Linked DNA regions of Homo sapiens: regions 2, 3, 4 and 5 are each linked to region 1. The links are contacts of gene promoters, found by promoter capture Hi-C in blood cells and fetal thymus (Javierre and others, 2016). All regions are on one chromosome and are shown on one strand. The core of a region is centred on a gene start or on the middle of the fragment in contact, and the rest is flanking DNA. Distances in the headings are between cores, read along the strand shown. Region 1 holds the start of RPL7 (ribosomal protein L7). Region 2 overlaps JPH1 (junctophilin 1). Region 3 holds the start of GDAP1 (ganglioside induced differentiation associated protein 1). Region 4 has its middle 20 kb from the start of GDAP1. Region 5 overlaps JPH1 (junctophilin 1).

Region 1 (2,700 bases), core at 4-2,503:
TCTCACCCCGGGGGAGGGGTGCGCAGCGGAGGCGGCACGGGCCAGCGGGCTGCCGCGGGAGTTGTCAACTCGACCCAAGTTGCGAGAGGGTGGGAGAGTGGGGTGCGGGGCGGCGGAGCGCCGGGAAGGGGAGACTCGCTCGGCGCAGGCAAGCGCTGCCCAACGCCTTGCAGCTGCCCCCGAGGGCTCGCGTTCCCCGGCCCTGCACTCTCCGCGGGTGTCACTCGGGCACTGGGCTCCGCAGCGCAGCCCGCTTGCAAGTCAGAGCGCTCCGGGCCGGCTCTGAGCGGGCTCCACGCTCCGCGCTATATAACCCCGCGACCGGGAAGAGCCCGCGCCAGCCTCGGCATCGGCCCTCCCTCCGCCCGGCCTCCCCGCCCCCGGGCGCACCCCGCCCCCGGCCCAGCCCCCAGCCCGCCAGCCGTCCGCGGAGCCGAGCCGGGTAGCCCCTCTCACACGGCCGTGGCCGCAACCTCAGCCCTCCTCGCACCTCCCTTCGCAGCTCACGCCCCCTCCCGTGGGGTGTCCTGGCCTCCGCCTGCCGAGCTCGGCAGTCAGCAGAGCCCCGGCCATCCTCCTCCGGCCGTCCGGTCCCCACTGGTCCCTGGCTAGCCACTTTTCGTAAGCTAGAGCACTCCAGACCGCCCCGCCTGCGATCAGGCGCTGCGGAAGACAGCCCTGTGGGCTGGAGCGACGACAAGGACCTCGCGGAGCGGCGAAAGGGGTGTAGTCTGCGACTACCGCGGCAGGGAGCCGGGAGGGCGGCCAAAAGTGACTTCGAATTGCAGCTAGCCGTTTGGAACGTGGCCCAAGAGGCTCTCATTTTCCTGGCTGGAACCGTCGCCGCGGTGCTTGCCTGCGGTCCTGGTCAGCCGTTGCCCTCCCGCCGGGCGGGCGAAGACTGGTGCATGCTGGGATTTGTAGTTCGTCCCCATGAGGCTCGTCCTGGGAACATTATGGGGAGGAACGGAGCCTAATCCTGTCAGCGCAGCCTGGGGATTAGGACCCGGAGTTGCCAAGGTGTCAGCACTCTTTGCTCTTGAATTGATTAAAAAGTCTAATCAAATGCATATATTTTCTTCAAACAAGTTTTACCCGAAAGTTTGTTGAAAGAGGCTAAATCAGGGAGTTCTTTGCGTCTGCAAGGCGGCTTTTTAGTTCTGGATTCTTTTCCGGCTTATTCTAAGACACCTATGAGTCGTGGGGCTTCTCTCGCGAAGTCTTTAAGTGGACAGTACGCATGCGCCAACTTCCTCTTTTTCCGGCTGGAACCATGGAGGGTGTAGAGTGAGTTGCTTCTGGTCCTCTTGAGAATCCTTCTCCATCTCCAGAGCCAGATACTTTTTGTGTCACTTTTTCTCTCTCTGGCCGTAGCTTGCACCTTTGCCCACCTCCCTGCTTGATTGTGAACGCTGTGTGACACCAGTGGGGACCTGAGGCTAGGGTTGGGATGCGGGCGGTCTTAGGACGGAGGTTTTGGAGATCCCGGGAACGAGATGTCGGGTTGGAATGTGTGTGGAACCCGTCGGTTGGCTGACGGCCCAGTCCTCGGTAGAGGGTCTTTCGGGGGAGGCGCAGAACCTCTGAATTGTGTTCGTCCTTGGCTGGTGCTTGGTACAGGCCTCCCTGCCGCCAGGCCTTTGCTTTCAACATGTGGATCCTGATTGAACCAGAGTGGTGGTGGCTTGTTTTTTTTTTATTTTTATTTTTTAATTTTTGCGCTTAAAGTCTCGGGGTCAGTGCCTTGCAGTAGTCTTTCAGCTAGTACATTTTGTTATTCGGGTGTTGGTGTGTTTTTTTTGTTTTTTTTTTTAATTAGTCGTCGGAGGCCGGGCCTCTTGGTTGAAATAGGGAAAAACGTATTGCTATTGTCATATTTGTGATTGCGTTTTAGGCAACATGGTGTTAAAGGTTATTGACATGGAGCTAAAATATGCATCGTACACTGTAGCATGCCAGAGCAAGTAAAGTTACTAGTGACTAAAGTCAGTGACAGCATTTCTGGTAAACAACACTGCTCAGTACGGGAGTAATACAGCGCTGTGAGCTTTTTGAGCTATTGATAACATTTTTGTTTATTAACGTTAGAGAGAAGAAGAAGGAGGTTCCTGCTGTGCCAGAAACCCTTAAGAAAAAGCGAAGGAATTTCGCAGAGCTGAAGATCAAGCGCCTGAGAAAGAAGTTTGCCCAAAAGATGGTAAGTAAACTTTTTGAGGCACTAGCACATAAGGAGGCGCCTTATTGGGATTGAGGATGAGGTGAATGTTCTTGGCAAGATTTACTTCCTAACTGTACTGAGTAATTGCTTAGCTACCTAATGTTACAATCTGAAGGTAGTGGGGTTTTTTGGTGGGGGATGTAATTGCATACTGTGGCAAGAAAAGATTTAAAGGAAACATGTTGTAGTTTTCTTTTTAATGATTGGCATTGCTAATTGTGATTGAGCTAAAAATTATGAATAACTGATTATTGGTTTTCAGCTTCGAAAGGCAAGGAGGAAGCTTATCTATGAAAAAGCAAAGCACTATCACAAGGAATATAGGCAGATGTACAGAACTGAAATTCGAATGGCGAGGATGGCAAGAAAAGCTGGCAACTTCTATGTACCTGCAGAACCCAAATTGGCGTTTGTCATCAGAATCAGAGGGTAAGTTCAGTTTTACTGCATTCGGGTTTGAATGGGAAAAAAAAAAAAAACCT
Region 2 (2,700 bases), core at 165-2,664, 1.0 Mb before region 1:
AGATTGTGTAGTTAAAATGACTAAATCTAAAAAATTAGCTCCCAAATGAACACAGTTTAAAACTGGTAAAAGTAATTTTTATACTTGTGAAATATGCATCTACATTTTAGGAATCAAGAGGAACTAATTAGAACTTTATTTGAGCAGCAGGGAGAAGTTGGAACCCACCTGCTTCATAAAGAAATAGGCCCTTTCTTATTCTAGGTTCATTGACTAAACTAAACCTATTTTAAATTTCAGATGAACTGCTAACAGTTTGACTGCAAATTGGTTTCTAGCAATTCTGTGGAGGAATTCTTTCATATACTGTGATTTAACAAAATAGGAGAGGAATGTGGCCAATGCTCTTGTCCCCCCCTTCCCTATTTGACAGTTAAGCAGAGACTTAAACTTTCTAATTATTGCTGTTGCCTTAAACAGCTTGGATTTTCAAGCCATACTTTTTTGGAAATTCTAAATACTGTACTAGTCTTATTTTTGGAGATAACAGTTTAAAGAAACTAGCTGTTAATTTTCCATCAGTGTTAAACATTTACCAAGATGGTATGGCTGTGTTTTAAAAGTGCAGATACTTATTGATATCAAACAGCATCTCTGCAAATTGTTCTAGCAAAATTAACTTGTCACTATAGACAAAAGTTAGGAGGATGTGATTATAGCATTCTTTTAACCAACAAAATATTAAAAATAAGGTGGTTTATTTTAGTATCTTCAAGCCAGATTGTGAAACTTTCATCCTAGAATTTAAATTTTACCTGTATAGGCAAAGGAAAAGTCAAAGTCAAAATTTCCTAATAATTCCATTCCCATTCCTGTTAAGATGGCGGTATTTGGAGATGGCCAGTATTCAATAGGAAGCTTCTTAGCCTGAAATGTTTTACATGACTATCTTATCCTCTTGAGTTAATCTTTCAGAGAAAACTGTGGGCCACCCACCTCCTCAGAAGTTCATAGATGTCAAGTTAAGACTTCACATCTACCCAGAATATGACATTTACAGTACCAGACCCACTTAGTATTTCATTGTATATCTACTATTGCCTGTGTCACATATGCCAGAATGAACAAAAAGAGAAGGTAGTCTTGAAATTGGTCAAAACCGTTGACTTGGGAGTCATTATGGTTTTAACTTTTAAGTGCAATGAAATAACCAGCCATTGTTAACACAGTTATATAAAACCACTAGCATTTTTGCCCGGTGTTTTGAAAATGAATATGTGCCATGCAATGGAAATCTGTGCATGGAAATATAAAATGCAAAGTGACTGCAGGGTAGATCTATATAATCAGAAATGGAAAGAGGTCAAGACAGACTAATCATTATTTGTTTTCTATGACATTGTGAATTGTTATGAATAACACAGAAGTAATTACATTTTAAATTTTCCAGATAGCTTCTTTTGAGGGATACTGTAAATTAAAATTTACCCTTAATTAAAGGAAATTGATTTTGAAAAGAAACTTCTAAATTCCCTAATTTAACATTCATTTCCTCCTAAGATTATTTTAAAACCTGTACCAGGTTATTTTTTAATGTCTTTGCTTATTTATTTAGTAGCAAAAAATTCACTACAAATGCTCTAGATGACAGACTATCATGAAAAAGCATAATATTTGTTGACAGAGTCATCTGGTATCAACATTTTAATAGATAGTGTCAAATATACCTTTCCTCTGAGATGAAGTCCAAAATGGTAACAGTAGAAGATTTCATCTGGCCTTACATCAGTTTCTCCAAGAGTAAAGGGTATACTTTTTAGCCACCATAGCTTTTTACCGTCAACATAGTCATCAAACACCCTCCATCCACAAACACAGACCAGAGGACACATGAGAATTTTGTGTTCTCATACGAAGTAATTCCTGCCCTCAGGGTGCTTCTAGTCTGTGGTGTGATTCACAATGCAGTGGCAGCTAGGGAAATCCATAGAGGATGCAGAGATTTGGCAAATGATACGGCACAAAGCTTTGGCCTTTTCACTTAGAAGCACAAAAATGTTAAATTACTCATTTTTTTCATAATTCACTGTATTCATAATATATATTGTGGTTGTCGATTCTCTCTTAGCTCAAAAAGGTTCACCCAAATTCAAATGATAATCCTGAATATTCAACAGTTTTGTCTACACTAAAAAAAGAGATGCTGAATGTAGCAGAAAATTTAAGACGTTCATTTGATGACTGTGTCCCAAGTATTCCGATTTAAGCCTGTATACTTCTTGGAATGTTATACTGACATAGACCTAAAAGTCATTTTTTACAGTTTTCCAGCTAAATTAGTAATATTAGAATAAAATTTACACATAGAATTCATTTCATCTTCTACTGTTTCCTTGTCTTCTTCCCAAGAGGAATTTTTGATGCATTAATTTCAGAGGAGAATGTTGTTTCCCAGTGTTCACTTTTTGTATTAGAAAGTAGTGGTTTTCCTCTGAAATACTTGCATAAAATTTTAATGAAAAGCAAAAATTATCTGACTACTAGAAAATTCTGTGCAATGACATTAAAGCCTTACACCCAAAATTACAGGGCGGGGATTCACAAGTGGATGCAAAGTATCCCCCAGGGTTGACTTGGAAATGGGTCAGATTTGACCTTGGGCAGGCCTGCGCCAGTGTGCGCTGGATGGTGCAGGTGACGGTGCAGCTCTGCCCCCGACTCACGGTGCTTTCTTGCGGTCTCTCCAAGGTACCTACCAGG
Region 3 (2,700 bases), core at 88-2,587, 1.1 Mb before region 1:
TTTGCAGTTTTTTGCAAGTGAATTTTTTTAAGTTTCAACATTAACATTTGTATTTTGCATTAAATTATTTTAAATAGCATTACACTAGCCTATACAAAATTTGTTATTGACCTATTTGATATTTGTGTGCTTATGGAAATGGAAAAGGTTTTTAATCCCAAACCACCATCATGACACAAGAGAAAGAGAGAGAGGAGAGAGAGAAAAAGAGAAAGGGAACACATAGTTGTGTTGAAAGTAAATCCAAGAAATCGCAAGTAGCCTTAACATTACCATCCAGGAAAGTCTGTTCAAGATAATCAATGATCTGAGTGGCCTCACAAATTATGTTTTCCCCGTGGATAAGGACAGGCACTTCTCCAGTTGAGTTCAAACGCATAAACCAAGGCTCATTGTGCTCACTCAAGGGCAGACTTACATCATGTTCCTCGCACTTCAATGCCTTTTCAGCAATTACCAAGCGCACCTGGAAGAGTTCACACTGGTTACTACAACACATGTAAGCTTTCAATTAAATGACTTCCCTGGACACCGCTAAGCAGCCTTTCTGGGCTTCCCTGTGTTACCGACATTTTCAACAGTCGTTTTAACAATTCCTATTCCTGGAATTAACAAGTAAGGAAAGAACAATACTCAACAAATTAAGAGAAGAACACAAAATAAGTAATGAAATGATTCTGACTGTATTCATTAAACAGTCACCCTCCTCATCACTACCACTTTCTCGGTGTCCTAAACCTGATTATGGGTCCTCCCCAGACAAGAACCTGACATGTAGGTACATCAGCTCTTGCTGAAGACAGTGAATGCGAGAGAGCAAAAGAAGAGATCGCAGATTATGAGGGTCCACAAAGGCACCTCCCTCTGCCTCTCTCCGAAGACCAGCAGGCAAGGCCTCCAGACCAAATACTGAAAATGATGCTTTTTTGTCGCATTTCGCGAGAGGCGGAGCCTGGGCCATAGCCACATAGGATCATCTCCGATCGATTCTCCCCGCTCCCCACCCGGGCGCGTCCCCGCCTGGAGGGAGCGCCTGCCCGGGGTCAGGACACTGGAGGCGGATTTCTAGGTGGACCGGCTTCCCTGGGCGGGACTCAGAAGGAGCTGTCCCAGTGCTGAAGCCCGATCCGCGCCACCCTCCGCCGCCAAGGCCTGTTGTACCTTTTGAGAGCTGAAGGAATGCGTCCAATGGTACAGAATGAGCTTAACCTCCGCGTCGGCCTTGCCTTCCGCCCTCAAGGGCGGGCTCCCTCTCTGCTCTTCCTGCCTCTCAGCCATCTTGGGGTGCGCGAGCACGGGTGCGCCCAGCCTGTCCGCCCTGGACTTCTCCCTCCCACACTGCCCCGCAAGGCGTTTCCGGGTTTTGAGGGGTACCTGCCGGAAGGAGGGCGCGCGGCCCGCTGGGAAATGTAGTTTCGCCGGCGGCAGAGTCTGCGAACACGCGGGGTCTGCGACTGGAAAGCCCCTGGCAAGCCTGGGAGTGCACCTGGGAGGTGCAATTGAACGGTTGTTTTTTGGGTTTGTTTTTTTTTTTAGAAGAAAAAATAAAAAATATGAGACCCTGGTTATGAAGGGCAGTAAGGAAGAATGATGATAGCAAATTACTCTTCGGTTTGGAGGTTGCTCAGGTATAAAAGCAGCAATTTCCCAAGATACTGAGGGTTGCTCTTGGAGCCTGTTCCTTTGTTGGAAAGGAAGTTCCGGTCGACAAGCAAAGCAACAGGAAAAGGATCTATGAGCTTTCATTAGAAGATGCTACTATGACATTAGTGGACTAATTCCACAAATTTGACTAACTGCTGTAGATTAGAGAATAGTCTTGTATAAACAGTAAGTACTTGATTTTGATAATTAAACTGTGCTTTGTAAAAGAAAAAAAAATACCACTATGGAGTCATGCAAAAAAACTGTTTTTGTCATAAACAGCTAATAAACAATGGCGATATAAAATAGCCTAGTTGTTAAACACAAAAATTCTACAACAGTACTGCCTAAGTTCATATCCTGGTTTTTCCATTTTCTAAGTAAGAATAATAATTTTATTGTTTCCCTCATAAGATTTTTGTGAAAAATTAATAATAAAATGTTAAACACTCAGAACACCCTGTCACGTTGTAGGCACTCAGTCTTAGTCACAGGTTCAGTTGTCTTATAAACATTCTGTTATAACCATAGTCAGAATCATAATTTTATATTAGTCTAGTTATTATTGTATGTCTTTAAAAATTTGGCATCATATAGTAAGTTGATTTTAAAAATCTCTTTCAGTAATATGTATAAATATGACCATAGAATAAATGCCTGTATAATTTATCTGGCAAATATTTATTGAGCACCTACACTGTTCCAGACATTGTGCTGGCTCCTGGTAATATAAAGATGTGTGAAATCTAATATCTAACACTCAAGATATAATCTGGCAGTAGAGACGACCAAGGAAATAGACAATCACAATAAAGATGAGAACTGTCTTAGGGTGAACACAGAGTACTATGAGAAAGGAGGGGCAGGCAGCCAACCCAGGTCAGAGAAGGGCCCCTGGAAAAGACAAAATCTCATGAGGTTCTTCCTTGCCTTTACAGTACTTCATTTGTTACTCTCTGTAATTCTTTCATAATTTTTTAAGATTTCATAATGTCTTTTATATCCTTCAGTTAATTCAAGTGCTATAGAAAAGGTGAATTCCTTGCCAAAATTGTT
Region 4 (2,700 bases), core at 66-2,565, 1.1 Mb before region 1:
TCAGCAAACTATCGCAAGGACAAAAAACCAAACACCACATGTTCTCACTCATAGGTGGGAATTGAACAATAAGAACACTTGGACACAGGAAGGGGAACATCACACACAAGGGACTGTCATGGGGTGGGGGGGGAGGGGTAGCATTAGGAGATATACCTAATGTAAATGACGAGTTAATGGGTGCAGCACACCAACATGGCACATGTATACATATGTCACAAACCTGCACATTGTGCACATGTACCCTAGAACTTACAGTATAATAATAAAAAAAAATAAAAAATTTTTAACAAACTATAAATTTCCCTCTAAGCACTGCCTTTGCTGTATCTCACAAATTCTGAAGTGTATTTTTATTATTCAACTCAAAATATTTTCTTTTTTTTTTTTTGAGACGGAGTCTCGCTCTGTCGCCCAGGCTGGAGTGCAGTGGCGCGATCTCGGCTCACTGCAAGCTCCGCCTCCCGGGTTCACGCCATTCTCCTGCCTCAGCCTCCCAAGTAGCTGGGACTACAGGCGCCCGCTACCACGCCCGGCTAATTTTTTGTATTTTTAGTAGAGACGGGGTTTCACCGTGTTAGCCAGAATGGTCTCGATCTCCTGACCTCGTGATCCGCCCGCCTCGGCCTCCCAAAGTGCTGGGATTACAGGCGTGAGCCACCGCGCCCGGCCATATTTTCTTATTCCCTTATGATTTCTTCTTTCAGCCATGGGTTACAAATGTGCTATTTAATTTCCAAATATTTGAAAATGTTTAAAATATTTTAGTTGTTGATTTTTCACTTAATTCCACAATGGCCACAGAATATACTCTGCAACATAAAAATCTGAATATTTAGTGAGATTTGTTTTATGGCCTAGAATATGTCTACTTTGATGAGCATTCCATATGCACATGAAAAGAATGTTTATTCCACAGTTTTTGAGTATGTCTAGTAAATGTGAATGAGATCAAGTTGGCTGACAGTGTGCTCAGATCTTCTATATCCCAATTGAATTTCTGTCTATTTTATCTATTCATTACTGAGAGAATAGTGACAAAATCTCCAACTAACATTTTCCATTGGTTCTGTCAGATTTTGCCACATACATTTTGAAGCTCTTAGATGAATATGTATTTATGATTATGTCTTCCTAATAAATTCTTTTGTGATTCATAAATGTCCCTCTTTGTCTCTTGTAAAACTCTGTCTTAAACTCCACTTTTTCTGAAATTAATATGGCCATACCACCTTTCTTGATGTATACCTGGTATATCGCTTTCCATACTTTTATGTTCAGTTTATGCATGTTTAAAGTACATCTCATAAATAGCGCATACTTGTGTCTTGCATTCTTATCTGATCTCTGACCTTCAATTGGAACATTTTACATTCAATGCTATTTACATTTACATATCATGCAATTATTGCTTTGGTGTGTTTAAGTCTACCACCTTGCTATGTTTTCCATTTGTCCCTTCTGTTTATTTGTTTTGTTGCTTCTTTCATTGGTATTTTATTTCTATTTGTTTCTTAGGGATTTTTTAAATTTTAGTGTTCCTCCAGAGCTAACAACGTGTTCTTATCAGAGTTTATTTAGTGTCAAAATTGCACTACTTCACCCTTGACACTACTTCCTTCTTCACACTTCCCACTTGATACTTTTCATTTGGCACATCTGTCCTCACACTTCATTCTTTACATATCACTAACCTAATAGCTTTACAATAGTGTAATTCCATTCATCCACTTCCTCCAACCTTTGTGTTTTTCATATATTTACTTCCACATATATTATAGAGCCCAGAAATTTACATTTTACATAATAATGCTATTATTCTTGTTCTAAACAGTAACCTTTTAAGGAAATTATGAGGCAATGAAAGTCTTTATATGTACCCATTATTTGCCATTCCTGGCACTACTTTTCTTTCCCCTCTCTGTGGATTTGGTTTCCATTTTGTATCATTCTCCATCAGTCTGAAAATGGCCTTTAGCAGTTTTTGGTTTTGCAGGGGCCTGCTGGATCCAACTTCTCTTGGCTTCAATTTATATGAAATAAAGTGTCTTTAAAACCCAAGTTTTTAAGGGGTATTTTCTCTGGATATAAAATTTTGAATTGGCAGGATTCCCTCACCACCCCTTCCCACCCCATCAGCACTTTAAAGACATTTTCATTGTTGTCTGCATTCCACTATTTCTGGTAAGTCAGCACACATTCTTATCATCATTCTCTTGTGTATATCTTTTTTTTCCCCTTCTAACTGCTTTCAAGATTTTTTTGTTTTCAGCGGTCTGACAATGATATGCCTACGTGAGGCTTTCTTGGTATTTATCTTTCACTGAGTTCAGTGATTTTCTTGGACGAGTAAGTAAATGTTTTTTCATCAAATTTGGGAAAATATGGCATTATTTAAATATATATATATATATGCACACACACACACACACAATTTCCTGCCCCATTCTTTGTTCTCTTTTTAGAACTCCCGTAACACACATATTAGACCAGTTGATATTTTCCACATGTTCCTGAGGCTGTGTTTCTTTATCTTCCTTTTGCCATCTTCCATCTGCTGTGAAGCCCATCCAATGAATTTTTCACTTATGTAATTTTCTAAAATTTCCATTTGGTTTCTTTTAATGGTTTTAATTTCTCTCCCATGATTTTCTGTCAATTCAATCAGACATTTTCTTTTAATTCTATAAACATATATTG
Region 5 (2,700 bases), core at 140-2,639, 1.0 Mb before region 1:
ATCAATACTTACACACTTAGTACTGTGCTAGATGTGAATGGAGGAAAAAGCGTGGGCCTGACCCCCTCCGCCCCCCACAACGCACACACAAGCTTAGAGTCAATTAGAGAAAATGCATGTACATGGGAGGTAGTTAAAAAAATAACACGAAGCAATTCAGTCAGTCCCGTATTTGTTTATTAGTGCTCTGCCACATTCCATGAAGGTTTCATAGTTTATATAAACGTCAAAATGGCTAGTCTTCTAGGAATTAACAAAGGAGTGGATTGACTTGTTTATAAAGCAGTTCCAAAGACTTTTACTTGGCCTATAGCCTAGTGATATTTTGTTTTTGTTGTTTTTCATGGTACTGTGTGAATTTGACAGTAAAAGCATTTTGAAAAATTATTCTAACTCTTCGCTAGATCAGAGTAACTTTCAGCCCATTGTTGGAACTATGAAAATGTGATTCTAGAGTAAGTAGTCACTACTGTTTAATTCCGTAAGTGAAAACGAGGGCGAGAAGAACATATTGAAGGTTTTCTTTTCTTTTTTTCTTTAAACTTTTTAGTAATGAATCACTTTTGTGGTGTTAAAAGTTCAGCTACAAAACTTTATTGTTTAAAAGTTTTCTTTAAATTACAGTTGCTATATTTGTAACAGTTAAAGATGTGCCACTGTATTCAGCACCCAATGACAACATGTTAAAGATACTTCAAGGGAAATAGAAGGCATACACCAACAAAGGGAAAAAACAAAACAAGCCTCAGACAGGCACCCCGCTCCCCATAAACAGTGTCTATGTAAATATGCATATGTGGCTGTGGTTAAAAGAAAAACTTTAGCCAAATTTAACAGAGTTTAATTGAGCAAAGAACAATTCGCACATCAGGCAGCCACCCGAGCCAGAGTGGGTACAGAGATTCCAGTGCAGCTGTGTAGTTGAAGAAGGGTTATAGACAGAAGAAGGAAAGTGAGGTACAGAAACAGCTGATTGGCTACAGCTCGTCATTTGCCTTATTTGAACACGGCTCGAATCGTTGACCCCCTTTGATTGGCCCAAAACTCAGTGATTGACACAAGAGTAAGCTACAATCTGTATACAACTCCATTTAGGTTATAGTTCGTGGTGTGCAGAGAAACCTTTAGGCTGAATGTAAAATATGTAAGGAGGCAGCTTTAGGCTACACTTAACACCCTAAAGAAATACTGAATAATGAGAAAAAGGGAGAAATATTAGAAAGACGAGGTGAATAAAGAAGGTCCCGGTATGATTAGTGTGTCTGGTGCCAGGAAGAGTTGCTCTGGAATGACTTCGTAAAGAAGTTGGTCCTTCGGCAACATTTTAAAGGGAAGCTAAGGGAAGATTTGTTCACAGTGGATCGAAATTTTACCAGGTGGGAGAAGACCCCATCTAATGATGTACAGCCCGAGGAGAAAAAAACCCCCTCAAAGGCAGTAAAGGTCACCAGTGTTCATTATTTGTGGGCAGTGTCGTCTTCGTGGCTTTTTGTAATAGGTCTTAATTTTAGCTTCATAGCCTGTTTAATCTTCTCCTGATATTCTGGGTTGATGTTTCGTAATGGCTCCCATTGCCAGTAGTAGAACCTGAAAACAAGGATCTTTCATATGCACACAGGTCTCTCGTGCCTTCATTCTACCACCAGGAAAAACATCCAGAAAGGTAATAAATTTGTGGAGAACAGCAGTGGTATGACTACTCATATTTCTGAAAATGAATGCTGTTGTAGGAAAGTTAGGAAAGTGGTGGAGATATTAGCTACAGCCCTACTGTCAGATTTGTACCCTGTAGCTTCATCCTCTTTTGAAAAGTCTTACAACAAACCCACCTGGATTTTGCGTTGCAGTGCCGTCGAGTACAGCTGAGTCATGGCAAGAGAAGAGGACAATTAGATAAGGGGTGCCTGACTATTAAAGGATCTGAAAAGCACTAACCAGGGTATTATGCAACACACAAGTGGAAACCGTTTCAGAGTGCCGAGGAAGTTATTAACAGGAGCAAAACAACATGTGAGGAGAGTGATTTTAGCTACAGTGCTCAAGGTAGATTGCAAGCAGCAGAAGTTGGGGATGAGATCATAAAGGACATGAATAAATGCATCTAGGCAATAAAGAACTGCACCCTTGAAATTTGTAAAGGAAAACCCATCTTGTATACAACAACCAGCTGTATACAAGGGAGTTAACGTTCTAAGGATGTGAGTACAATTAGCTAAGAGCATAAGTGGCACCATAAAGGCTGATGGAGACATTATGGGGAGAAAGATAGTGAATCTGATGTGTGGACATTCAAGGTGATAGATAAAAAGATAACATGAGTTTCAAGTAAGAACAGTACTTTGAAGCCTTGAGCACTTAGCAGCTTCCCGAGGATATGAATACATCAAAATTGGAGATTGGCACTGGCATTTATAACAGCAATTATTAGGAAAGTGAGTAGAGGGGGCTGGAATAGAGAAATCTCTAAAGAAGAGGCAGAGATGATGACCTGTGTGTGGAAAGAAGCAGAGAATTATTTTTGTGCTACTATTAAGACAAAATGCTAGACAAGGTTCAATTGTTGTTATAAATGTAATTTCTCTATATAATTTCATCATCTAAAATCAAATTAGCAAGTACTTTTTATTTAAGGGGTAATAAGAGTAGTCATCACACTATCTAGATAGCCACACACTATCAAAGCTTTAACTCTTCATGTTG

What was found. The method cuts DNA at HindIII sites, captures the fragments that hold promoters and counts their contacts. A CHiCAGO score of 5 or more calls a contact.
Region 2: a contact is called between a fragment that was not itself captured here and the fragment with the promoter of RPL7 in region 1, in 1 of 17 cell types (fetal thymus). The highest score is 8.8, in fetal thymus.
Region 3: a contact is called between the fragment with the promoter of GDAP1 here and the fragment with the promoter of RPL7 in region 1, in 14 of 17 cell types (total B cells, naive CD4 T cells, naive CD8 T cells and 11 more). The highest score is 23.8, in total B cells.
Region 4: a fragment that was not itself captured here is called in contact with the fragment with the promoter of RPL7 in region 1 in 1 of 17 cell types (naive CD8 T cells); the score reaches 7.0 in naive CD8 T cells.
Region 5: a contact is called between a fragment that was not itself captured here and the fragment with the promoter of RPL7 in region 1, in 1 of 17 cell types (fetal thymus). The highest score is 9.3, in fetal thymus.

The regions. Positions count from the first base shown.
Region 1 is chr8:73,292,186-73,294,885 of GRCh38, reverse strand. It overlaps RPL7 (ribosomal protein L7), which reads left to right and starts at 1,253. Exons shown (of 7, transcript NM_000971.4): 1 at 1,253-1,287; 2 at 2,089-2,197; 3 at 2,481-2,647. The coding sequence starts at 1,274. It overlaps RDH10 (retinol dehydrogenase 10), which reads right to left and starts at 284. Exons shown (of 6, transcript NM_172037.5): 1 at 1-284. RefSeq lists a silencer at 1-551 and enhancers at 642-1,131, 585-1,292, 1,252-1,611, 1,622-1,671, 1,293-2,001. The HindIII fragment of the contact is 6,100 bases long and covers 1-2,503 here.
Region 2 is chr8:74,315,609-74,318,308 of GRCh38, reverse strand. It overlaps JPH1 (junctophilin 1), which reads left to right. Exons shown (of 6, transcript NM_020647.4): 2 at 2,689-2,700. Among named protein-coding and RNA genes, the nearest start is that of JPH1, 4.6 kb to the left of the region's middle. The HindIII fragment of the contact is 1,108 bases long and covers 861-1,968 here.
Region 3 is chr8:74,349,040-74,351,739 of GRCh38, reverse strand. It overlaps GDAP1 (ganglioside induced differentiation associated protein 1), which reads right to left and starts at 1,337. Exons shown (of 6, transcript NM_018972.4): 1 at 1,162-1,337; 2 at 274-466. The coding sequence starts at 1,278. RefSeq lists an enhancer at 1,095-1,324. The HindIII fragment of the contact is 8,708 bases long and covers 507-2,700 here.
Region 4 is chr8:74,369,351-74,372,050 of GRCh38, reverse strand. It overlaps a transcript of GDAP1 not described here. Among named protein-coding and RNA genes, the nearest start is that of GDAP1, 20 kb to the right of the region's middle. The HindIII fragment of the contact is 6,781 bases long and covers 1-2,700 here.
Region 5 is chr8:74,297,785-74,300,484 of GRCh38, reverse strand. The region is part of intron 2 of JPH1 (junctophilin 1); the gene reads left to right. Among named protein-coding and RNA genes, the nearest start is that of JPH1, 22 kb to the left of the region's middle. The HindIII fragment of the contact is 2,590 bases long and covers 95-2,684 here.